Linked DNA regions of Homo sapiens: regions 2, 3, 4, 5, 6 and 7 are each linked to region 1. The links are contacts of gene promoters, found by promoter capture Hi-C in blood cells and fetal thymus (Javierre and others, 2016). All regions are on one chromosome and are shown on one strand. The core of a region is centred on a gene start or on the middle of the fragment in contact, and the rest is flanking DNA. Distances in the headings are between cores, read along the strand shown. Region 1 holds the start of SRSF7 (serine and arginine rich splicing factor 7). Region 2 holds the start of STRN (striatin). Region 3 overlaps HEATR5B (HEAT repeat containing 5B). Region 4 holds the start of EIF2AK2 (eukaryotic translation initiation factor 2 alpha kinase 2). Region 5 has its middle 2.0 kb from the start of CEBPZOS. Region 6 overlaps CEBPZ (CCAAT enhancer binding protein zeta). Region 7 overlaps PRKD3 (protein kinase D3).

Region 1 (3,370 bases), core at 592-3,091:
AATAAATACCTGCTTCTTCTTCGCCGGCTGTAACGATGACAATCATAAGCATAATGTCCCTTTTCGCCACACTCATAGCATCTATCATTTGGATCAAAGGGACGTCGGGCAGGTGGTCTATCAAAACGTGATCTCCGAGGCATGCCTGTCGATAGTTCAACCCTCACTCGGGAGCCACAAATCACCCTAATAAAAGCAAATTAACAAAATTCTAAAGTTAAAAATATATTCAGGACTTATAGATTTAAAAAGAACTCTTTCCAACCACTCACTCTTTCCAACCACTCCTTCCCCCCCAACAAACTTTGGCGGTCTTTACCAAGCCCTAACTCCATCTCCGCTATCTTCTTTAACCTTCGTGTGCCTTTAGCATTTAACACTATGACCAGCTATTTAAGGTCTCTTCCAGACTTCAGAATCCAAATTTAGCACTAAGTTCATTATCTAGCCACAGTATATTTTAATGAACAGAAGATTCATAACATCTTACTTACTTTCCATCCAGTCCTCGTACTGCATCTTCTGCATCTCTAGGATCTTCGAATTCCACAAAGGCAAATCCTGGAGGATTTCTCGCAATCCATACAGTTCTTAAAGGACCATAATAACTGAAAGCCCTTTCTAACTCTCCTTTGCCAGCGCCAGTTCCCAGGTTACCAACATACACCTTGGTTTCTGTTTAAAAACGCAAATAGAAGAATGCACGTTACGCAAAATCTGGCCCAAGTTTCAATTACTTATTTGCCTTAAAACGGGCCATCCTCAAGATTGGGTAAAGCACATTTAATGCCCTCTATCCAAGACAAAACTTAGTCGTAAAACTGGTGAAAGTCCGCAAATCCCTGAGAAACTAGACTTTTGACAAAATTCTTAACGTTCTAAATAATGCGGGGTGACCCTCCCGAACACAAGCAGAAACGCGTGGTAGGATACACCGAGGCGTGGGGCGGAACCTGGCCCGGCCCCACCCATGAGTCCCGGCAGCCCCGGGCGCACCGGGAGCGCGCGGGCCCGCAGCGGCAGCGGCGTCGGCGGCGGGAGGGCCTCGGTAGGGGCCGGGCCAGGAGAGCAGGGCTGCGCCGGCTCTCGTCCTCCGCGGCAAACGTCCCAGGCACAGGCTCGCCCAAGACTCCAGCTCCCCGCCCCAGAGCCATAAACCGCGCTGGAAATAACTAAAAAAAACCCAGCCGCCAGTCGCAGATTACGTCCCCATTCCCATTCCGCAATTTAACCGATTGTTTGACGAGAACATGCAGCTCACAGCTGCCAATTTCGTTCTATCTCAAACACAACCACGATCTTACAGCTGCGGCCAGATCTGTCCGCTGAAGTGGCGGGAAAGCGCTGAGGAAATGCGCCACCACGGTCCTCAATGTGCGCAAAATGGCAGCCGCCGCCGAGGGCGGGGGGGGAGGGGGGCCGGCGGGCAGCTCCGAGAAAGGCAACGCGAAAACCGTCATCTCAACCCTGCTTTAGGCTGGATTGGGCCACAAAAATGCCCAAGAGTACGGAACTCGGCAGAGATGTACACCCGCCATCCCGTCTCCCTTCAGCACCCCGCCTCCGCTGCCTCCGGCTTCGTCTGGCGTGCTCCTAAGCCGCCATTACGCACGCGGAATAACCGTCTCCCAACCTCCGCGACAACCCTACGGCCTCGCAGTGCTCACTACACCCACACCAACGTCCCTCACCGGACTCCAGCTTCTTACCTCCTCCGTACCGCCCGTAACGCGACATGATGACAGACCCGCGTGCTCGGCTCTTTAGCAAGCAGCGCCCAGGGCTCGAGTGACGCAAAAGCTGACACACACCTTCACCCGCCAAGAGTCCCGGCGGCACTACGAGGAAGAGCCCGGGTTCGCGTTTATATATGCGGCCGCTGCGCTTTGCGCATGCGTCATCTCGTTGTTCTGCGCGGCACAAAGGAGCTGGGCGGAAACAGCCAAGAAACGACGCGGAAGGAACTGAAGAGACTAACACGCGGGTCATGGGCGGAGGGATACGTTTCTATGGGAACGCCACGATCTCTCCAGTAAACCTGAGGCCTTCCCCATGCTGTCCCGCCCCCTCCTCTCCCCGTTTTCTACACCCTCCTTGTCTTCTTTCCCGTCTCCCTACCCTCTGCCTCCTTTCGTTTTTCCCCAGGCTAGGGACCCTCAGCCTTAACAATCTTAGTACGGATGCATTAGACCGGCCTATGAAAGGCTGTACAATTTAACCGCTGATGTTGCAGCCGTCGCGCCCTTCTGCTGGGGGACCTGGCCTAGTCAGCTACTCTGATCTTTGGGGCTCATCAGAGGTAATCGAAGGTTTGGCCATGGTGAAAAGTCCATGAACCCCGCCATTCTGAGTAGTGGTTTTTACACCATAGACCTTGACGCACCCTGGGACTGGTGGTAAAGCCTCCTGTCCTACACGCCCCCTCCAACTTCTTTTGAACCAGTCACCAGTTTGCACCACCACGGTCTGAGTTCTTGGAGTCTGAAAGACAAAGGAATAGAGCTGTGGGGTCCCGCTCCCCCCTCCCCCCTTTATATTGAAATTGTGACAAAACCCTGAATGTTTAAAGCATTTTGGCCAGTGACAATTTGGAAATTATTTGCATCTGAAGCTCAAAGTAACTGATTTGCTTTTCCTAATGCTTTCTGCTTTGTAACACGTGTGATCCACCAATACTCCGATCCTGAGGACTGGGACTCCTAAGTCATCTTTGTGTATCTCCACTCAGTGGAAATAGCAGCCTTGCTGCTCAGCCACTCAACAGTACCAAATAAATGCAAAACTTCTTTACATTAGAATTGCTCTAGACACCAACTACAAATAGAGAAAAAGTTCTTTTTTGCTAGAAACATAGACATTACATCGTAAATTCTTGGAATACACAAAAGTTGGAAATGTACATAAAAAAAGACATTTAGGTATTTGCATTTTTATCTTTTTCGTCTTTTGCAACTTCATTTGGTGAGTATAGGTGTGGAATGGAGAGTACAGGGAAAGCAGGCCTAGTTGGTGAATAAAGCATGGATTCTTTCCAGGTCATGCTATGATTTTATGCATATTTTTTACGTTGATTAAGTTATGGAGAGAATTAATCTCTCTCAGGAAGATCTCTAAGAAGAAAATAGAAGCTCTGTAGAGTATATGTGTTCTCCCTTAGTCTTGGTGATTTTTTTCTTAACAAGGTTCTTCTCAAAAGAAACAATAATTATAAAGATCTATAGGTTCTTCTCAAAAGAATTAAACAATAATTATAAAGACTATATAGGGGCCAGGCGCAGTGGCTCACGCCTGTAATGCCAGCACTTTGGGAGGCCGAGGCGGGCGGATTGCCTGAGCTCAGGAGTTTGAGACCAGCCTGGGCAACACAGTA
Region 2 (3,370 bases), core at 255-2,754, 1.8 Mb before region 1:
TGTTCGCTCTTTCCACAGCCACTTCCACTACACCAGAGCCTGTTCCAGCACATGATTCTATTTAACAGATTTCTCCTCTTCTTTTTTTTCTTAAGCGCCAAATACATGTTACCAAAAAAAGTGACACACTGGGTAGCATTTTAAACTCAAGTGTTTTGCCAACTAAAACTATACTCAAATTTCATAAGTATACAGGCTTAGCCCGTAAAACAGAAAGGCACAACTATTCATAGTTCTTTAAGTTCCTTTTGAAATTGGTGTGTATGCCCTGGAAGTTTTAAGAACAACCACTGAAAACCTATTCACCAATTCTGAATGGCTTGTAAAGTATCAGCCTCACTTTCATTCTTTTCAGAGCCCACAGTTATCTCCTCCCTGGATATACTTTATCTTGCAGATTATGCAAGGCAATGTAACTAACTTCAAAGTCCCTTTAGTTCCTTTTAAAGCACAAGAAAATCTCCCAAAACACTGAACATAAAATTAACCCTTGGGAAGTTTCAGATTCTGAGAACAGGAACCACCTCTTAACCATTCTCTCTGACTGCGATCATCTAGGTCCTTCATTCAAAATGCATTAATTGGAAATACCTAAAAGAAACGTGGGAGGGGGCCGGGGGGTCGGAAGAAAGTGGAGAACAGACATTTACATATATAAAAAAAGGGATCTGATATATGAATAACACTTTTGCCCAACGTCAACTTCTCGCCTCGACTCAAGGCCTGACACAACTTCTGTTGTCTTCTTGATCACCTTCCTTGAAGAGAGGGGCCAAAGCCGGCACGTTCTGCGGAGACTGTCTCTAGACCTAGGAAGGGGCACACCAGGGCAGCGGACGATTTGCTCCGCGTCTCTCAAAACTACTGCCAGCCCAATTAGTAAACCGAGAGGGCAGCCCTGAGATGCAGGATGGCCAGAGAGTTGAAATGAGTCTGGGAGTTAAGAGTGGGATGGGGCGGACGAACAGGCGTGGGGAGGGTAAACAACGCACCAGGAGCGGGAGTGAGAACAGGGTCGAGGTGGGGTCAGCGAAAGGCAAAAGGCGAAGAGAAGAAGGGGACGGGGCTCCGGGTGGGATGGGCGGCAGCAAAGGGGGAGGGGACGCGAGAAGGCTGGGGGAGGGGGAGAAGGGTCCGGGGCGGGGCGGAAGGGAGCAAAGAGGCGGGATGAAGACGGCCAGGCCGGGAGGGTCTTTACCTGCAGCTCCGCCCGCTCCACCTCCCACTGGGCTCTCTCCACCTCGAAGCGGGCCCACTCGTGCTGCAGGAAGTGCAGGATCCCCGGGAGACTGTACTGGGCTCGGGCCGCCCCCGCCGCAGCCGCCCCGTCGCCGGCCGCGGCAGCCTCCGCCAGAGGCCCGAGCCCCTTGGCACCGCCGGCGCCCGGGTGGTTGTTGCTGAAGAAGACGCCGGGACCCGCCTGCTCGTCCATGGCGGCCGCAGATACCCGGGGAGCTGCCCCGGCGCCCAGCAGCGGAGGCAACAGCGGCGGCAAGCAGCGCCTCCTCCTCCCTCCGCCGCTCCCGCCCACACCCCAGTCAGCAGGGAGCAGCCTCCTGGGCGCGGGGGCCGGCCGAGCCCGTGACGGGCCGGGAAATGGGTCAACTGCGGCGCGCTGGCGGCCCGGGGCTTGCCGGGAAATGTAGTCGCGGGGCGGGGCGCGGGCTAGCGCGGCCCGGGCGGCCTGTAGGGCTGTGCCTCAGCTTGGGCGTGGCCTCGGGCCCGCCCCGCCCCGGCTCGCCGCGTAGGGGGCCGGCTGGGCGGGGAGAGCGGGTTTCCTCTGGGGCCGGCTGGGCGCGGGCGGGCGGGTCTCCAGTCTTCCTCGCACGCGGAAGTTCGCGGGCGGCGCACCCTGTTGCATTCAAAAACACACACACACACACACACACACACACACGGAAGTTGTCACGCCAAGATACCTGCCCGAGCTGCACATCTTTTAAGGCTTCCTGGCCGTTCTGTGAAGGAACAGGCTCAAAGCGAGCTACCCGGTGCGGCCGCGGGACCGGGGTTCTCCCGCCAGCTGCCCTGCGTGCTCTCGCTTCGGCTTCGTGTTCGGAGTTTCTCTCACCCTAGACGCTCCTCCATTCTGCCAATCTGCGGGTCGCTGTCGCTCTTGCCTTTCTCTTTTGACTCGAGGGGCTCAAACCTGTTACCTGACCAGTTTTCATTTCTAAGGAACGCCGATCACCTTTCTAAGACAACGCCGCAGCTTTCTGCTGCTGCTTCCAAATTGTGGTTTGTTGACAGCCCATCTGAAAAACTGCTCCGTTGAAGTTTCTTTCCCTTTGCAGTCCTCCTGCAGTAAATCCTGTAAAAGTTTTAGCATCCAATAATAGATGTTCTGTTATTTCGGTCTCATTTTTCCTATCTTATTCCCGCTGATTTTTACTCTACTTAATTGAACAAATATTTTGATTATCGGTTTTCTCTTGCGCTGGGAATATTAAGATAAATGACATCGTTTCTGTCATCAAAGATTGGCGTATAATCAAATATCACAAAGGCTTAATTTAAAAGCTACACCACCTTGAAAAAGCAAGTTCCCTTTCTGCTCCCTAGCGCGGTCTTAGATATCCTGGCCCCTCTCCGTTTTCACTTGTCCTGTTCCCAGTTTCTTTCACGATTCACCTGCCAACTGGCAACAGCATCCGCCTACCAAAGGTACACCAAAGTCCTTTCAAGTTACTCTCTGTAAATATTTGCCTTCTCCGAAGTCTGACAATATGTCACTATAAATTCACACTACAACAGTGGCAAAAAGGAAGGCCCCTGAAAACAATTTAACAAATGCAAATGAAATTAAGCACTTATTTTGTCACCCTAACAAGTTATCTGAAATTCTTACGTTTTGTAGGACGTACTTGTGGGTTATCAGACTTGATGGCCATGAAAAAATGTAAAGATCTAGGCTGCTGAGTGACATGTCAGGGAAAGACATCCTGTCCCTGTCCTCTCTCCCCTCCCCCCCTTTCCCATGGCTACTTGCAGAAAGGACAGGAAACACATTGTGTCTGCTCTGGTTGCAAATAAAGATGGAGAACTCTCTTCTCTCGCTTAATTAATGTTTCTGCTTTATGAATTCATTCTTTATTATCATCAAAGATTGATCCAGGCCTGGCCAAATTCCCTGTGCCATAACTTATTTTGGCTGTCAGTGTCCTTTGAGATACAGCCCAGTCTTCTCATTTACAGCTCAAGGAACTAAATTCCAAAAAAATTGAGACTTGTCAACAATGAGGCCTTGAGTGAGACGACATATCCGACAATTCCTTTAAGTCAATTCATAGCAGACACAAAATGTAATTAAATGTATAGATAATCTGGACTACCACACATATACAAAAACTATTTTAATTCGTAGTTCAAC
Region 3 (3,370 bases), core at 346-2,845, 1.7 Mb before region 1:
ACGTTAAACTAAATCTGCCCTATGAACCAGCTATTCCATCCCTAGGTTATTTGCGGAAGTGAAATGAAAGCATATGTTTGTGCAAAAACTTATATACAGATGTTCACAGCAGTTTTTTTGTAATAATCAAAACTAGAAGCAACTCAAATGTTTATAACAGGTGAGTGAACAAATCAATGTGACATATCCATACAATGAAATACTACTCAGCAATAAAAAGGAATGAACTATGGATACATATAACAACATAAATGAATTTCAAAACAATTATACTAAGTGAAAGAAGCCAGAATACACATACACAAAAGTACATCTCATGATGTGATACTATTATATATAATTCTAGAAAATGAAACTAATCCATTGGAACACAAAACATAATTTAAAATTTTAAAAGAAAAAAAAATCGTTGACTGTTTAAGAGCAAGAAGGATAAAGAGCAGTATTCTAAATTGGTCGAGTACTAACCTTGGCCACTGCACATCGAACAGCCATTGACCTATCAGTCAAGAGAGACCTGGCATTCTTGTAAATATCACGATGGGAGGAAGCTGCTGCACCACCCAGTCCACTTAGAACTTTCTGTAGACTCATTAAGATTTCACTTCGCCCTTGAGACTAGACATGTATACAAAACAAAACTATTTTGTAAAATAAATTCCATATTTAAACAAGAACACACCAAGACAAAAGTTCTTTGGGTCTAATGGTCTTACCTCCAAATTATAAACGGTAAATAATGAAAAGTACAATAAAATTAAGTATTCTAGAAAGTACCTGGCAAGTAAGAATAGTCAATTAAATAATATCTTTCTAAAAAATTAGGTTTTAAGTAAATATATTCCAATATTTCTATGAATTACTGAAGTACATACAATATAATGAAAACATGAAGAGATTCAAAAGCTTCAATATCATATCTCAATATATAAAATATTTCAGAACGTAAAATATTAAGTAAAAAAGTTGAGAAATAATATATAAATGATCCAAAAAAGGAAGCAGAAAACATCCAACACATTTAAAAAAACATGTCAGAAATACAGCAAACCTTCATCTTCTTGTGACTAACTCAAACTGTTATATCCATATTCTCATAGTGCTTATTGTTATTTCTGATAGTATACTCATCACAGTGTATCACAATGCTTATTCACACTTAGCTCTCTTCCACTAAACTGTAAGTTCTTTGAGGTCAGGACCATCTTTGTATGTTTAATGCCTGACAAATAATAAGTCCTCAATTCTTTTTTAATGAATGAATAGACAAATAGTTCCCAGAAAAGGTATCCAATTCTAATCCAATGACTGGTATCACTGAACAGGGAAATAATTTAGACACAAAACACAAAGGGACAGGAAAAAGGTGATGTGACAAAGGAGACAGAGATGGGAGAGATGCATCTACAAGCCAGGGAAGATCAAAGATTTCCAGCAACCACTAGAAGGTAAGAAGGAAAGGAAACATTCTTCCCTAGATCCTTCAGTGGAAACATGGCCTTGCTGACACTTTATCGCAGACCTCCAGCTTCCAGAACTGTGAGACAATAAATTGTTGTTGTTTTAAGCCACCCAGTCTAAGGTAATTTATTACAGTAACCAGGAAATTAACACATTAGCTATGGCACCAAAAAAAAGAAAAAAAAAAAAGCCAATCCAAAAGTACCATAGGACTAAATAAAAAATAACAAGTAAACCTATTCCTTGTCAAAGAAAAGCATTCTTTCCCTTCCCCCTGATATACATTAAAAGAAGGGACAAGTAATAATTTGTAATTACCTCCTTGCTAAGCAATATGAGACCACAGTGACAGAAAAAGAAACAAACATATTTTAGCTGACATCTAACTCTTGCCACAAGCAAATATTCAAATAATATTGGTTGTAAAACTTACCTCTGCACTTTTCAGAGATTTCAATAGATTATTTACCGTTTCTGGAAATGCGCTGCCCAACATTCTCCCCATTTTTTCATAAAATGCTCCGACACAAGCCACCGCAGCCCTGTAAGAAGTGACAACTTCACTAGTCATTGTCCAGGTTAATGATACAATTATACTTTTCTCATTTTTAGAAATCAATTTGCATTTGTCTAGGACACTTTTGGCTATAATCCTTAATTTCAACTATCAAAAACAATTTATGCTTCATAACTGCAACAAATACTATACTCTATTTACACTGTATTCTTGTTAAATACTATAGTTAAATTGTATTCTTGTTAGGAATACAAAAGAATCTATATATGTACATAATAAATCATACCCATTCTTTGGGAAGAAATCCAAGCTTTTCTTTTTTTTTTTAGGGGGAGACAAAGTCTCACTCTGTCACCCACGCTGGAGTGCAGTGGTGTGGTCCTGGTTCACTGCAACCTCTGCCTCCTGGGTTCAAGCCATTCTCCTGCCTCAGCTTCCTGAGTAGCTGGGATTACAGGTGCATGCCACCATTCCCAGCTCATTTTGTATATTCAGTAGAGATGGGGTTTCACCACGTTAGCCAGGCTGATCTCGAACTCCTGACCTCAGGTGATCCGCCTGCCTCGGCCTCCCAAAGTGTTGGGATTACAGGCGTGAGCCACAGCGCCCGGCCCCTAAGCTTTGCTTCTATGAAGACTTTCCAAATTATGTCAAGCCTCAACAATCCCTCTCTTCTTTCATTATATGTAACACTTAATGTCAATCACTGATTTTGACAAAATTATATCATTTACTGTGTTGTAACTTGACCATTTTATATGTCTCTATCTTGTCCTGCCAGTGGAAATGTAAACTCCAGAAACGGAATATAGCTCACATATTTGCATTGCTCACAGTGTCTACCTCTTAATTTACAAATAATACTATACTATTAGTAAACCTGTAAAATTTAATCTAAATTACATTAACAGAACACTTGGAAGAATAAAGTAATAATAGCAACACACTTCTTCAGGAGCAAGAAATGACCCCAGTGTCACTTAGGTCAATAGTAAGTGAATAGCTGTGGGTTTAGCTTAAAGGCAAAAGTAGGACATGGTGGTTAAGAGCGGATGCTTTGGAGTCTAGCAGACCTGTGCCTAAATCCTAGAACCTACCATCTAATAGCTATGTGTAGTTGGATCTTGGAAGTGGGCAGGTGGTCTACCATGAGGCGAGTCATTCCCGCTCCAACAAATAAAAATAAATAAAAGCTATGTGATCTGAGCAATTTACAGATAAGAGAGGTTAACTAAATTTAGCTCACAATCAAACACATAATAAACAGTAGAATCAGGGAATCAACTTTCACCTCTTCAACTCCAAATCTCATGCTTTTTGATACCCTGTAGGCTGATAATAAATTTAAAATGACTGGCATCACATGCCGGCATACATTAGAGATTTCCTAAA
Region 4 (3,370 bases), core at 398-2,897, 1.6 Mb before region 1:
GAATTACTACAGGTAAGGGACCAGGCTCAATAATGAATGAGTGAGTACCAAAATATCTCCAGATACCCCATCCAGGACTTGTCACCTGCTTTTCTCTACATTTATAGTGCAATATCTGCATTCTCTCTGTACCCACCAATATCCACTCATCTATCAGGATCAACACAGCCTTCTTTGATGCTGGAGGGTCAGCTAGTATGGGCTTGCCACTCCACCTTGCCCAACCTTCAACACAGCCCTGACTGCTTTTTAAACTAATTAGTGAGCTCTTTGGGGAGCAGATTCTACATCTTATTCACTCATCTGGAAGAAACCTCCATCATAATCACTAAAAAATAATATTTGTCCATCTTACTAATGCCCAGAAATTATTTTGGCTATGCCTCCACTTCCTTTCCAGCAGACTACATACAGCCTGGCCAACACGGTGAAACCCTGTCTCTACTAAAAATAAAAAAATTAGTTGGCTGTGCTGGCGGGCACCTGTAGTCCCAGCTACCTGGGAGGCTGAGGAAGGAAAATCGCTTGAACCTGAGAGGCAGAGGTTGCAGTGAGCCCAGATCGTGCCACTGCATTCCAGCCTGGCGACAGAGTGAGAATCTGTCTCAAAAAAAAAAAAAAAGAAAAGAAAAGAAAGAAAATGTCACCAGGTGATAACTACTATGTTGACAACCGAAGTAGTGGAAGGGGGAACAGCAAGGGCAGAGCGGGGTTTCTTGTATAGGCAGGTTGTTTGAGGAAGGCTGCTCTGATAAGCTGGCATGGGAAGCAGTGCAGGATAAGGGAGGGATTTCCCCATGCAGTTATCTGGGGAAGAAGCTTTCCAGAAAGAAGAAACAAGCAGTGCAAAGGCCTAGAGGCTGGAGGATGCTTGGCTGTGCACCAGGAACAGCAAGGAAGCCAGCGTGGCCGGAGTAGGGGGTGCGAGGGGCCTTGCCTGTGAGCCTTAATAAATGTTTATAGGATTCTGATGAGACAGGAAAGCTACGGGGAAGGTCGGAGCAGGGGAGAGTCTGGTTCTTACTTAAAGGAACATTCCAGATGCTGAGGTGTGGAGAAGAGGTAGGGGGTGGAGGTTCAGGGGTGAGGATACGGAGTGGGAACAGGAACTGCGGCCAGGCAATTGGGAAACTACTGCAACTCTCCACGGAAGAGATTTTTAGCCAAAGATTGTTCAGCCAGTCTATGAGTATTTCAGGCCTCCGTATTTTCCATGTGTCAAGCCACTAGGCCTATTCGTCTTCCACTAGACCCCGCCCCACAACTGCTGCCTGGGAAATATTTGTTACTTGCACTGATAAAAATTCTTCACGGGAAGGAAATGGCTTTCAGTCCCCACCCCGCTCCACGATCCTTTCCCTGGATTTGGGGAGGGCCCCACACCCGGGCTGCGGACCTGGGCCTGCTCTCCCAGTGCTGACCCAGCCGGGGCCAGGGGCTTCGGATCAGCGTCCGCGTCCTGAGCTGGGGACGCAGGATTGGCGAGTCCCGCCCCGGCTGGGCCTGCAGCCCCTCGTACGTGGCCCCCCGGCCCCCGCTCCCCGCGCTCCCTCGGCTGCCCCCTGCCCTGCTCACCTGCGCCGCCGCCGCCGCCGCCGCCGCCGCCGGCCGGAGACCCGCGGCTTCGGGAGAGCTGGTTCTCAGTTTCGTTTTCCCCTTGGACTCCGCCTTCCCTGCAGCCGCCCGGCCCCCTCTCGCACAAGCCCTCGTCTGCTACGGGATTGGGGTAAATTGGCGCTGGATCCAGAGTGCGCGCGAGAGGCACTGGCGGGCGGGCTTGGCACCGGCGGGCGGGCTTGGCACCGGCAGGCGGGCTTGGCACCCACGTGCTGCCCCTGCACGGCCAGGACCCTGCACCCCCATCCCCCGCCCCCGGGGCTCCTAGGGTTCTCCGCTGGCCTAGTCCGCTGGCCGCACTAGGTTCTCGAATCAAGGGTTCCACTTACTCTCAACACAAATATTTGGGGTGGGGTTGGGAAGATGGATCTTACCAGCTCCATTCTACAATAGAGGAAACTGAGTAAATGAACTCACCCAGGGGTCCTGCCGCTCGTAAGTGGCAAAGCCAGGATTCAGTTCAAGTCGGGGCCTGTAAACACCAAAGCACTCTTTCCCTCTTGCCACACCGCGGCCCCCTCACCTTTACAAGCCTGGGGATCAGAGGCCTGGGGGCGTAATCTCCTTCACTCCGCTCCCACCCATCCATTCATTCATGAGCAGACACTTGCCAGCCGCTGTAAAAGCACCTGTGGGCCAGTCCTGCTGCTAAATAGAGACACCTGCTTCCTACAGTACCCCAGGGAGCTTCCTACCATAGTCCAACACCAGTAGTCCTCGATTTATAGAAATTCTACTCACCTGATGGACTGCGACACACTCCCAGAGTCACACAGAGTTCCAGAGTTCATTGGCACAGTGACTAATGAGTATTGAGGCACAGAGAATTTGGATTAACACAGGTAGTAAGCAGCGGAGTTAGAATTATAACCAGGAGTTTGTACTCTCAGTATCTTAGCTGGGATAAGAGAGGAAGGTGGTCCAAAGACAGACCTCAAATATACATTAAATATTATGCCTAGGCCGGCGCGGTGGCTCATGCCTGTAATCCCAGAAATTTGGGAGGCTGAGACGGGCGGATCACCTGAGGTCAGGAGTTCAGGACCAGCCTGGCCAACATGGCAAAACCCCGTCTCTACTAAAAAACACAAAAATTAGCTGGGCGTGGTGGCAGGCACCTGTAATCCCAGCTACTCCAGAGGCTGAGGCAGGGAGAATTGCTTGAACCTGGGAGGCAGAGATTGTAGTGAGCTGAGATCATGCCACTACACTCCAGCCTGGGTGACAGAGTGGGACTCCAATTCAAAAAAAAAAAAAAAAAATTACACCTAGGCAGGCATCCTCTCCAGCCTCCCTTCTCCATCCCCCAACAACCCCACATTGCAGGGTATCAACAACTAAAATCTACACTTTCCTTGTAGCTCTGGTCCTGGGCATAGCTTAAGTCCCCTATATGTAAAGCACTGGCGGGAGGTTTAGAAGGTAGACATGAGGCAGAGCCATCTTTTTGTGGCATTTCCAGGTGACAAGAAAACTCTGACAGTGCTGTGTGTCCATTTGTCAGCTTTGTGGGTGTGGGATGGCTGTGGCAGCAGCAATGGCAGTAGCAAGGACAAGTTTTTCTGACTTTTTGAGCCCCTGAACTGCCCAAGAGAGCTTAAAGAATGAAAAATGGCAAGCTTAAGCATGATCAGAGGACACACGCTTTTATGACTGTACCAGAAAACCCTCCTATTTCAGGGAGCCTCAGGGGTGATGTAAAAATCTGCCTTCTCTGCTGGGGAAAGATTTGGAAGGAATGATATCAGAGGGT
Region 5 (3,370 bases), core at 279-2,778, 1.6 Mb before region 1:
TCTGATTCTTAGTTTGTCTAGGCTTAGGTCAACCTGTTAACCTTACAGTTCTACATACTCAACTCTGAGTTGTCTGGCAAGCATAATGGAGGGAGGATACCAGCCGTGAATAATTACAGAATAACCTGTATCGTGTGATATGTTTGAACTGTCATACGTATGAGTCCAGGTGGGTCTCATGTTATATGAAGTCCTAGCTTCTTTCAGCTCCTTGTGTCTTACCCATATTGGAGATAAATTACCGCAGACCTATCAGGCTTTGCCAGCTGTGGCCTGGCTCAAGCCCCAGAGGCAGCTGCATGGGAGGCTTATTTAAAGTTTCTTTCCGCCTGGGTGTGGTGGCTCACACCTATAATACCAGCACTTTGGGAGGCTGAGGCAGGCGGATTGCTTGAGCTCAGGAGTTTGAGACCAGCCTGGCCAACATGGTGAAACTCTGTCTCTACTTAAAAAAAAAAAAAAAAAAATTGCCAGGTGTGGCGGTGCGTGCCTGTAGTCCCAACTACTTGGGAGGCCAAGGCAAGAGAATCGCTTGAATCCGGGAGGCAGGGCTTGTAGTGAGCTGAGATCGTGCCACTGCACTCCAGCCCGGGTGACAGAGTGAGACTCTGTCTCAAAATATAATAATAATAAAATAAAGTTTATTTCCTTGGCATTAAAGACACCATGCCCTCTTACCTTCTTTTCCTTTGTTTTTTTCCAGTCTATAGACATTTACCAAAAAAAAAAGAAGAAAAAGAAGAAGAAGAAAAAGAAGAAGAAGAAGAAGAAGAAGAAGAAGAAGAAGAAGAAGAAGAAGAAGAAGGAGAAGAAGGAGAAGAAGGAGAAGAAGGAGAAAATATGAAAAGAAATGTCTAGGCTTTAAGGTGAAGATGGGAGAATGGACAGCAAACCTAGTACATATTTGTTAAAGTGGAGGTCCCTATGGCCACTACAGAAGACTGGGATTTTAGCCTGCTTCTGTGCTTTGGAGAGAACTAGCACATCTTTCTAGTCATTTGCATCCCTCTACCAGAGTTAGTAAATCAGGCTAGGACCAGGAAGGCACTGTCGCTAAAGGACCCTTGGTAAAAGTTTCTACTGGAGTCTACACTTTTCCTGCTCCAAACCTTCTGGCCAAAATGTGTCTTATCTCAAAATGTCAAGCTTTGTGCAATATCGTTATTAGTTTATATATATTTTCCTGCAGAAATCATGACATTTCTATACAATTATTTTAGTCTTTCTTATAATTTCTGTTTTTTCGTGAAAGAAATTTTATATTTATATAGTTATATTTGATGTAGTTGAAGATTCAGTGGTTAGTTCTCATCCACATTGACTGTCTGTAGATTTTTTTTTTTTCGAGACAAAGCCTTTTTCTGTCACCTAGGGTGGAGTGCAGTGAGATCTTGACTAATTTTTTGTATTTTTAGTAGAGACAGGGTTTCACCATATTGGCCAAGCTGGTCTTGAACTCCTGACCTCAAGTGATCTGCCCATCTTGGCCTCCCAAAGTGCTGGGGTTACAGGCATGAGCCACCGTGCCTGGCTGACTATCTGTAGATTTTTGAAAGTGGTAACAGGTACATAGGTAATCAAAGTACAGAGCTTATTTGGTGAATCTTCATCCTCATTACATCCTCTGGACAGCTGCACGCGGATACGGTACGGGACATTCCTTATTCCTTTGGCAAAGACAACTTTATTGAGCCTGGTATCAATGCACACATCTGGAGTTCCCATCTCCTTCATTGCAAAATTTCCGGATCTCTTTGAGTGCCTGAGGGACATGCTTCTTGAAGCCCACTCTGTGGATGTGCTTGTGAATGTTGGTGTATTCTTGGGTCATCACCTCGTTGATGGCAGAATGGTCCATTTTCTTCTTGCCACTGTTCTTTGCAGGAGCCATTCTGCTAGGCCCAAGTTGGTAAAGCTTGTTATCATTTCTTTAAGCTTTTTTTCTCCTCTTTTCTTTTTTTCAATCTGAACCATTCCAATGACCTTTTCTTCTTTCTCCTTCCTTCCTCCCTCCCTCCCTCCCTCCCTCCCTCCCTTCCTTCCTTCCTTCTTTCCTTCCTTCCTTCCTTCCTTCCTTCCTTCCTTCCTTCCTTCCTTCCTTCCTTCCTTCCTTCCATTTTTGAGACACAGTCTTACTCTGTCGCCCAGGCTGGAGTGCAGTGGCACGATCTTGGCTCACTTTAACCTCTGCCTCCTGGGTTCAAGCAACTCTCCTGCCTTAGATTTCCGAATAGCTGGGATTACAGGCATGCTCCACCTCACCCAGCTAATTTTCATATTTTTAGTAGAGATGGGGTTTCTCCTTGTTGGCTAGGCTGGTCTTGAACTCCTGACCTCAGGTTATCTGCCCACCTTGGCCTCCCAAAGTGCTGGGATTACAGGTGTGAGCCACCGCACCAAGCCCCAATAGCTTTTTCATCTTGCTTTGTCATCCTGGTACTTTTAACACTGATATTCTGGTATTTCAAACCAATGTAGTGGAGCCTTGCTATATGGTCTGAAAGTTTTTGTTCTCCCTAAATTCATATGTTTTTCACAATTTATGATGCTTTAGTTACACAGATGAACCACATGGGCTGGACTAGGGGTGGGGCGGGTGTTAGGAAAATTGGGGCAATCACAGAGCACCTTGCAGAGGCACTTCCTTTACTTGGCGTGGACAGAGTTAGCTCCAGCTATCACCCCTTCTCTAAAACCTTTACAGATTCCTCGGATTAGAAGCAAGGCCCTTATCATTGTGTACTTTCCATCAGTTATTTGTGGTAAATACCCCTAACTAGACTAGAACTTCGATGAAGGTAGATCTGTGCCTGTTTTGGGTGTTCCAGGCTTTGTCTTGCACACGGTACTTCAATATACTTTTATATTCTTTTTCTCTTCTCTGTTTCCATGTCCCCTTCGCGCTTTCTCAAGTGTTACTTTGCAAACGAATTCTTTAGGGATCTGGCTAAAATGCAGTTTCAGATTCAGTAGTTCTGCATTTTTTTTTTTTTGAGACAAAGTCTCACTCTGTCGCCCAGGCTGGAGTGCAGTGGTGCGATCTCAGCTCACTGCAACCTCCGCCTCCCGGGTTCAAGCGATTCTCCTGCCTCAGCCTCCCCGGTAGCTGGGACTACAGGCGCATGCCACTACGACCAGCTATTTTTTTTTAAACGTATTTTTAGTAGAGACGGGGTCTCACCGTGTTAGCCAGGATGGTCTCGGTCTCCTGATGTCGTGATCCTCCCATCTAGGCCTCCCAAAGTGCTGGGATTATAGGCGTGAGCCACCGCGCCCGGCCTAGTTCTTCATTTCTAACAAGTTTTCAGGTGATGCTTATGTTGGTAGTCCTCTGAGACTATCACACTTTAAGTTTCAGGGTGTTAGAAAA
Region 6 (3,370 bases), core at 317-2,816, 1.5 Mb before region 1:
TTTCAGCCTTGGAACTCTTTTCAAATTAACAGTGTTAAGTTATCTATTACTTCAAAGAGTTGTGGAAAGGCTTCTGAGTCTTTTTAGTGGACCAGAGCAATCAGTGCTATGAAATGTCATGAAATCTACAGCAAGTGGACCTGGACTTGCCACCTAACTTGGTCTCTTAATATCTGTGTGACCTTGCCCAAATTATTGTATCTCACAGTGTGGGGAAAAGGAAGAGAGATCAGATTGTTACTGTGTCTGTGTAGAAAGAAGTAGACATAGGAGACTCCATTTTGTTATGTACTAAGAAAAATTCTTCTGCCTTGAGATTCTGTTAATCTATAACCTTACCCCCAACCCCGTGCTCTCTGAAACATGTGCTGTGTCCACTCAGAGTTGAATGGATTAAGGGCGGTGCAAGATGTGCTTTGTTAAACAGATGCTTGAAGGCAGCATGCTCCTTAAGAGTCATCACCACTCCCTAATCTCAAGTACCCAGGGACACAAAAACTGCGGAAGGCCGCAGGGACCTCTGCCTAGGAAAGCCAGGTATTGTCCAAGGTTTCTCCCCATGTGATAGTCTGAAATATGGCCTCGTGGGAAGGGAAAGACCTGACCGTCCCCCAGCCCGACACCCGTAAAGGGTCTGTGCTGAGGAGGATTAGTAAAAGAGGAAGGAATGCCTCTTGCAGTTGAGACAAGAGGAAGGCATCTGTCTCCTGCCTGTCCCTGGGCAATGGAATGTCTCGGTATAAAACCCGATTGTATGCTCCATCTACTGAGATAGGGAAAAACCGCCTTAGGGCTGGAGGTGGGACCTGTGGGCAGCAATACTGCTTTGTAAAGCATTGAGATGTTTATGTGTATGCATATCTAAAAGCACAGCACTTAATCCTTTACATTGTCTATGATGCAAAGACCTTTGTTCACGTGTTTGTCTGCTGACCCTCTCCCCACAATTGTCTTGTGACCCTGACACATCCCCCTCTTCGAGAAACACCGACAGATGATCAATAAATACTAAGGGAACTCAGAGGCTGGCGGGATCCTCCATATGCTGAACGCTGGTTCCCCGGTTCCCCTTATTTCTTTCTCTATACTTTGTCTCTGTGTCTTTTTCTTTTCCAAATCTCTCGTCCCACCTTACGAGAAACACCCACAGGTGTGTAGGGGCAACCCACCCCTACATCACAGACTGGAGAGCTGTTAAGAGGATTAAACTAAAGAAACATGGATGACTATCAGTAATAAGGATAGCCGCCAACATTTCACATAGCACTAAGTGTTAGGCACTGTTAAGCACTTAATATACATAGAAAGATTACATGGGTTAACACACATAACCTCCCAACCTTCATTAAAGCCCCAGTTCTGTCATTTACAAGCTGTAGAACCTTGTGCAAGTTTCAAAATCTTCATAATAATCATATGAGATAGCTGCTTTTCTCTCCATCCTACAGACAAATCCACTTAAGCATGATAACATGGGATGAATTATGTCTACCAATAGGTTTTTAGTGGGGATCAAGTAATTTGCCCAAAATTACACAGAAAACTAATGGCAGGGACTCAAACCCAGGCGGCGTGGCTTAAGTCTAAGATACGAACCACTACTCCACATTTTCTCACAAGATATATCTATGTAAAAATATAAAAATGAATCAGAAGGAAATATATTAATTTCTTGAACACAGTTGCTATGTTCGACTGTCTCTTAAACAGCTCCAAACTGTTTACACATTGCTGAAAATATGATGCCTCAATGGGTGAGTTGCAAAATTCAGTAAAGAAAATCTTCATCTCCATTAAAAAACAACAACAAAAAAAACCCTGCACCCTGCATCCCCCAAAACTCTCTACTTAACATACTTTGTTTACCACCGCTCCCCTCTCTGCCACCTCCTCCAATATGAATGTGAGCGCCTCCAGGGGTGGGATTTCTGTTCGCTGTGCCTCCTGTGCACCTAGAGCATGGCACCATACTGCAGGCACTCAGAAAATACTTGTTGAATGAGTTACTGTGTGAATGCATTCAACTGTGTGAAAGACAGCAGGGAAAAGATAGAGGACTGAGGAGAATGGGAAGACGGAAACTGCAATTATATCTGCAATTTTATTTCTTTAATATCCCAAAAGATTTAAAACAAATATAGCAAAATGTTAATTCTGAAATACTAGGTGGTAGATATGAATGAATCTTTTGGGTATTTTTCTGTATTTTACAACCTCTCAAAATGAAAAATGTATTCAAAGCATCTAATATAATTTGTGCCCATCAGGGAAACAAAGATTAAGTGACTTACTTGAAGGTGGCGAGTAGCAAGCTGCTGAGGGGGCCTAAAACCAAATTTTCTAACTCTTTTTCTTGCCCCACAGAGGGCACTGCTTGTGCTGTACTACATCAAGTTATTATTTCATGTCTCATATTGGAAGGGTATGTTCTTACCTGTATAATGCTGTGTAATATCGATCCGATATTGTCTGCTGAGAATTCATTACTTGGAAAAGCAACATTAAAGCCTGGACACTGGTATTAAAATTCACAATATGCAACACTTTAAACAGTGTGTCAATCTGCTCCCTTACTTTGTCATCACCAGTCTGGGAATAAGGGTATGCCCTATTCACACCTGTTAAAAGGGCGCTAAGCATTTTTGATTCAACATCTTTTTTTTTGACACAAGTCCGAAAAAAGCAAAAGTAAACAGTTATTAATTTGTTAGCCAATTCACTTTCTTCATGGGACAGAGCCATTTGATTTAAAAAGCAAATTGCATAATATTGAGCTTTGGAGCTGATATTTGAGCGGAAGAGTAGCCTTTCTACTTCACCAGACACAACTCCTTTCATATTGGGATGTTTACAAAGTAATGTCTCTAACAGATGGGATGCTTTTGTGGCAATTCTGTTCTGAGGATCTCCCAGTTTATTTACCACTTGCACAAGAAGAGCCTTTTCTTCCTCAGGCTTGTTACAAAGCAGCTCATGAGCCACGGTAAGGGCTCGAGTTTTAGTGGTTACTAATGTATCATGACTTAAAGTTTCTAAGACCTGCACAAATTCAGCCACTAAGTGTTTCAGCTGGTGTTCAAAATACCATAATATCAGTCTTCTATCTCTTGAGTCCTTGTTGCCACTGGACAACTGTTCCAGTTTGTCAAAAGGACGCTGGCTGAAAATCCTCAGCTTCCGATTGTCTGGCAAAAGGTCTGTGATAAGCAACTCTTTGAAAGTATCCAAGGCCATAAGGCACTGCTGTTTGCTGCCCTTCTTTTTAACAAGGTTCACAAGAGTTTCTACAAACTGAAGTGTGTGAACGGCATCATCCTGAATAAGAAGAATCATGGCTGCCATCCTGTCACCTAGTGTCCCCGATGACACA
Region 7 (3,370 bases), core at 287-2,786, 1.4 Mb before region 1:
TGACATATGTATATATTCTATAAAGCACAAATCAAAAAATTAACATAAACTTAATTGATAGTAGTTTTCAGTCATTTCTAGATTACCACTGGCTAATTCTAATAAATCTTCAACAGAGAGGGACCTCGAAGTGTAATAGCTCAAGTTTTCTTTTGAGTTTGGAAACCACTAAGATCAGATTAATACATAATAATATTGATTAGCTAGCATATACTGTGTGATTACTATTTGCTAAGTATTGGGCTAAGCATTTTAGAAACATATCATTTAATATACACACACAATGATGAGAGATGAGTGCTACTTTTAACCTCATTTTTCAGACAAGGAATCAAGATTACACAACTAATAAGTGGTAGAAATGAACTCCAGTTTAACCCCAAAACTAATGGTTTTAACTATAACACTATACTGCTTCATATTAATTCCTTCCTTTATTTATTCAACCAAAGAATATTCACTGAGCACCTACTGTGGCCATGATATCTGGCATCATAAAGCTTAGTTTTATAGTGGATACAGTCAAGAAAAGAGACAATTACAATGAGCATTATGAATGTTAAAATACAATGTGTTGGATAGGATGCCAACATCCATACAGAAAAAAACTTGCTGGAGGTCTAAGCAGAGGATGTGGCAATGAAAGGGTGTTCAAGGCTAGTTAAAAGATAGAACATGGCATGTCTGAAGCTTAGGAAAGGAATCTGGACCAGAGATCAGAGATTGATCAGCATTATTTTGTAAGTAATCTTGCAATAATACCTTATACATAAGCAATCACATATTTCTGTCACCTGCTCATTGCTGGCAACTACACGTCTGTCCAGTTAACTGCTGCAGAGTGAAGAGGGCAGAGATTATCACGAATTTCTTGAATAACTAATTCTAACACAAATAAAATTTAGAGCACCACTAGGAAGCAGAATCACAAAACTTTTTATCTGACCAAGCAAAAGAAAGCAGACTCTATATGTGCATAAAGAGACCAGTATCTGCTGTCTCACAGACTAGTGAGGATGTTAAAGGTATCTTGCTTTATCCATGCTACAAGCTATCAAAGTAGTAGCATGGCATTGTACCAGCAAAAGCTTATTTCTCCAGGTGAAGTACTACAGTTGGTGATGGCAAGCAAAAAGTAGGATTGAAAATATGATTTCATATTTCCAACAAGGTGACAGCTCTCCTTCCTGAGTCATTTTATCATATTGTACCTTTATTTCAGGACTTACATCTACCTTATATTAGGGCAATTTGACATTTGCTCATCTTCTTTTCTAGAGCATAAATCACAGGGGCAGGGAATTTGTGTTTCATCTTGGGAGCTTCCACAGTTATCTAGCACAGTGACTGAAGAGTAGTGCACCATAAATATTTGTTCAACTGAAGCAAAGCCATAACAGATAATGGCACCCAGGTGTAGGATAATTGTATAACACTATTTAGCTCTCTGCAAACTGCCACCAGGGAGACTGAAAATCTACCTAGAATTTGCAATTATCACATTAACCTATAATCAGCTGCAGACCTCTCTGAAATTTTTAATTTTAAGAATTTTTTTAAAGTATATTTTCAGTATGTGGAAAATAAGATGGCACTCACGGGACAAAATATACAATTTCAATATTTGAAAAAATGTATCTTCAGATTGTTACTTATCTGGTCCTTAGGCTTATCAAATTTCCATTAGACTAGAGGTTCTAGACTGTGGCTCTCATTAGAATCATAGATAGAACTCTTAAACAGACTCCCACTCCCAAAGGACCTGATTTAATTGGTCTAGGAAGGACCTGTTTAACCTCCTAGTTACTCTCCAGTGCAGTCTGGGTTGAAAACCACTGTTACAAATCAAGTCCACATTTAAAATGCATATAACCTTGCAACTACATGCATCGAGTTTGTAAACATCCTGATCCTTGTAACATGTGGCCTATTGTAAAAGATTTTTTAAAACTAGGTTTTTTTCTTTTTCCATAAATATGACAAAACAAGCTTTGAACTTTTGCCTATAATTTTTAAAAAAGCTAACCAGGAAATGCTCAATGATAAGAGTAATCAGAAAATCTTGTGGGCTGTTCAAAAGCAGACTGGTTAAGATTTTGTTGGGAAAAAATAGACACAAACATAGCAATAAAGCCTGCATTTGTCAAAATATATGTTATGAGTTTATTCATTTGATTATAACTATTTCATCAAAAATTACTGAATCGTGGAAATATCTGACAAGGAGCTTGGTTCACACCCCTTCAACTTATTTCCAATAGTAGGCTGGGAGTGAAAAAAATTTAAAACAATGTATTATTTCAAATGTGGTCATGGCACAGCTCAGAGGCAAACACAGCTTTTCTATCGTACTACATATTTCAAGTCAAAGTCTTGTTATAGCTCTGCCTTCTTGTTCCAGCTCTTATAGTGTAAATAAGAGTCCTTTTCACAGTCTATTTAGTGCCATATTTTCTGCATTTTTTTCATCTTTTGTTAGTGACTCTTCTGTTTAAAATGGCTCCCAAGCACAGTGCTGAAGCAGTCTAGTGTTCTCAAGTGCAAAAAGTTTATGATGTCCCTTATAGAGTAACTACACGTGTTCAATAACATTCAGGTATAAGTAACAGCGCTGTTAGCTGTGAGTACAATGTTAATGAATCAACTATATATATTAAATAAAGTGTCTTCAAACAGAAACACATAAAACAAGGTTATGTATTTATTGGTTGACGAAAATGTGACCAGAGGCTTGCAGGAACCTATCCTCCCACTAGGAACAAAGGTTCCACTAGGTCCTACTAGGAGCAATCGTTCACTATTAGCTAATTCAGTGTTCTCAGTGACTTTACAGAATATAACTACTATGAATAACAATAATTGACTGCATGTAGAAATAAAATATAAAAATGACAATAGGAAGAAAATAGAAATATACTGTTCTAAGGTATATATTACATTATAAAGTGCTATGATATTGTTTGAAGATACTCTGATCAGATGCATATTATATAAACTAGAACAGGGATTTCCAAACATTTTCTGCAACAGGCCAAACAGTAGTATTTTAGGCTTGGTGGGCCATATGGTCTCTGTCACAGCTACTCAACTCTGCTGCTGCAGAACAAAAGAAGCCACAGACAAGATATAAAGGATTGAGCACCCTGTGTTCCAATAAAACTCTATTGACAACAGGTGGTGGGCCAGATTCGGCTTATGGATACAGATTGCTGACCCCTGCATTAGCGGAATTGATGAAAAAAAAAAAAACTGTAAAGAGTATAATTAACCAGCAGTGGAGGTACTATGGAATTATATAATGTAATTCAAAAGAAGGCAGAAAAGGACCTGAGAACAGAAGGGACAAATAGAAAACAGCCAATCTATTTAA

What was found. The method cuts DNA at HindIII sites, captures the fragments that hold promoters and counts their contacts. A CHiCAGO score of 5 or more calls a contact.
Region 2: a contact is called between the fragment with the promoter of STRN here and the fragment with the promoter of SRSF7 in region 1, in 1 of 17 cell types (neutrophils). The highest score is 6.4, in neutrophils.
Region 3: a fragment that was not itself captured here is called in contact with the fragment with the promoter of SRSF7 in region 1 in 1 of 17 cell types (monocytes); the score reaches 7.7 in monocytes.
Region 4: a contact is called between the fragment with the promoter of EIF2AK2 here and the fragment with the promoter of SRSF7 in region 1, in 1 of 17 cell types (activated CD4 T cells). The highest score is 7.6, in activated CD4 T cells.
Region 5: a contact is called between a fragment that was not itself captured here and the fragment with the promoter of SRSF7 in region 1, in 1 of 17 cell types (monocytes). The highest score is 6.2, in monocytes.
Region 6: a fragment that was not itself captured here is called in contact with the fragment with the promoter of SRSF7 in region 1 in 2 of 17 cell types (naive CD8 T cells and total CD4 T cells); the score reaches 7.2 in naive CD8 T cells.
Region 7: a fragment that was not itself captured here is called in contact with the fragment with the promoter of SRSF7 in region 1 in 1 of 17 cell types (total CD4 T cells); the score reaches 5.1 in total CD4 T cells.

Annotation. Positions count from the first base shown.
Region 1 is chr2:38,749,520-38,752,889 of GRCh38, forward strand. It overlaps SRSF7 (serine and arginine rich splicing factor 7), which reads right to left and starts at 1,842. Exons shown (of 8, transcript NM_001031684.3): 1 at 1,710-1,842; 2 at 495-675; 3 at 10-186. The coding sequence starts at 1,737. RefSeq lists silencers at 927-1,116, 1,327-1,426 and an enhancer at 2,287-2,346. The HindIII fragment of the contact is 14,475 bases long and covers 1-3,370 here.
Region 2 is chr2:36,965,032-36,968,401 of GRCh38, forward strand. STRN (striatin) reads right to left here and starts at 1,505. Exons shown (of 18, transcript NM_003162.4): 1 at 1,199-1,505. The coding sequence starts at 1,432. RefSeq lists a silencer at 1,186-1,995. The HindIII fragment of the contact is 8,803 bases long and covers 1-3,370 here.
Region 3 is chr2:37,075,017-37,078,386 of GRCh38, forward strand. It overlaps HEATR5B (HEAT repeat containing 5B), which reads right to left. Exons shown (of 36, transcript NM_019024.3): 4 at 1,895-2,003; 5 at 469-618. Among named protein-coding and RNA genes, the nearest start is that of HEATR5B, 7.7 kb to the right of the region's middle. The HindIII fragment of the contact is 1,382 bases long and covers 905-2,286 here.
Region 4 is chr2:37,155,333-37,158,702 of GRCh38, forward strand. It overlaps EIF2AK2 (eukaryotic translation initiation factor 2 alpha kinase 2), which reads right to left and starts at 1,648. Exons shown (of 17, transcript NM_001135651.3): 1 at 1,576-1,648. RefSeq lists silencers at 1,438-1,557, 1,758-1,947 and an enhancer at 1,578-1,707. The HindIII fragment of the contact is 2,417 bases long and covers 818-3,234 here.
Region 5 is chr2:37,192,847-37,196,216 of GRCh38, forward strand. It overlaps a transcript of SULT6B1 not described here and the pseudogene RPL31P16. Among named protein-coding and RNA genes, the nearest start is that of CEBPZOS, 2.0 kb to the right of the region's middle. The HindIII fragment of the contact is 769 bases long and covers 1,145-1,913 here.
Region 6 is chr2:37,225,110-37,228,479 of GRCh38, forward strand. CEBPZ (CCAAT enhancer binding protein zeta) reads right to left here. Exons shown (of 16, transcript NM_005760.3): 2 at 2,435-3,370. Among named protein-coding and RNA genes, the nearest start is that of CEBPZ, 4.8 kb to the right of the region's middle. RefSeq lists an enhancer at 770-1,374. The HindIII fragment of the contact is 4,440 bases long and covers 1-3,370 here.
Region 7 is chr2:37,310,102-37,313,471 of GRCh38, forward strand. All of the region lies in intron 2 of PRKD3 (protein kinase D3), which reads right to left. Among named protein-coding and RNA genes, the nearest start is that of PRKD3, 13 kb to the right of the region's middle. The HindIII fragment of the contact is 901 bases long and covers 1,087-1,987 here.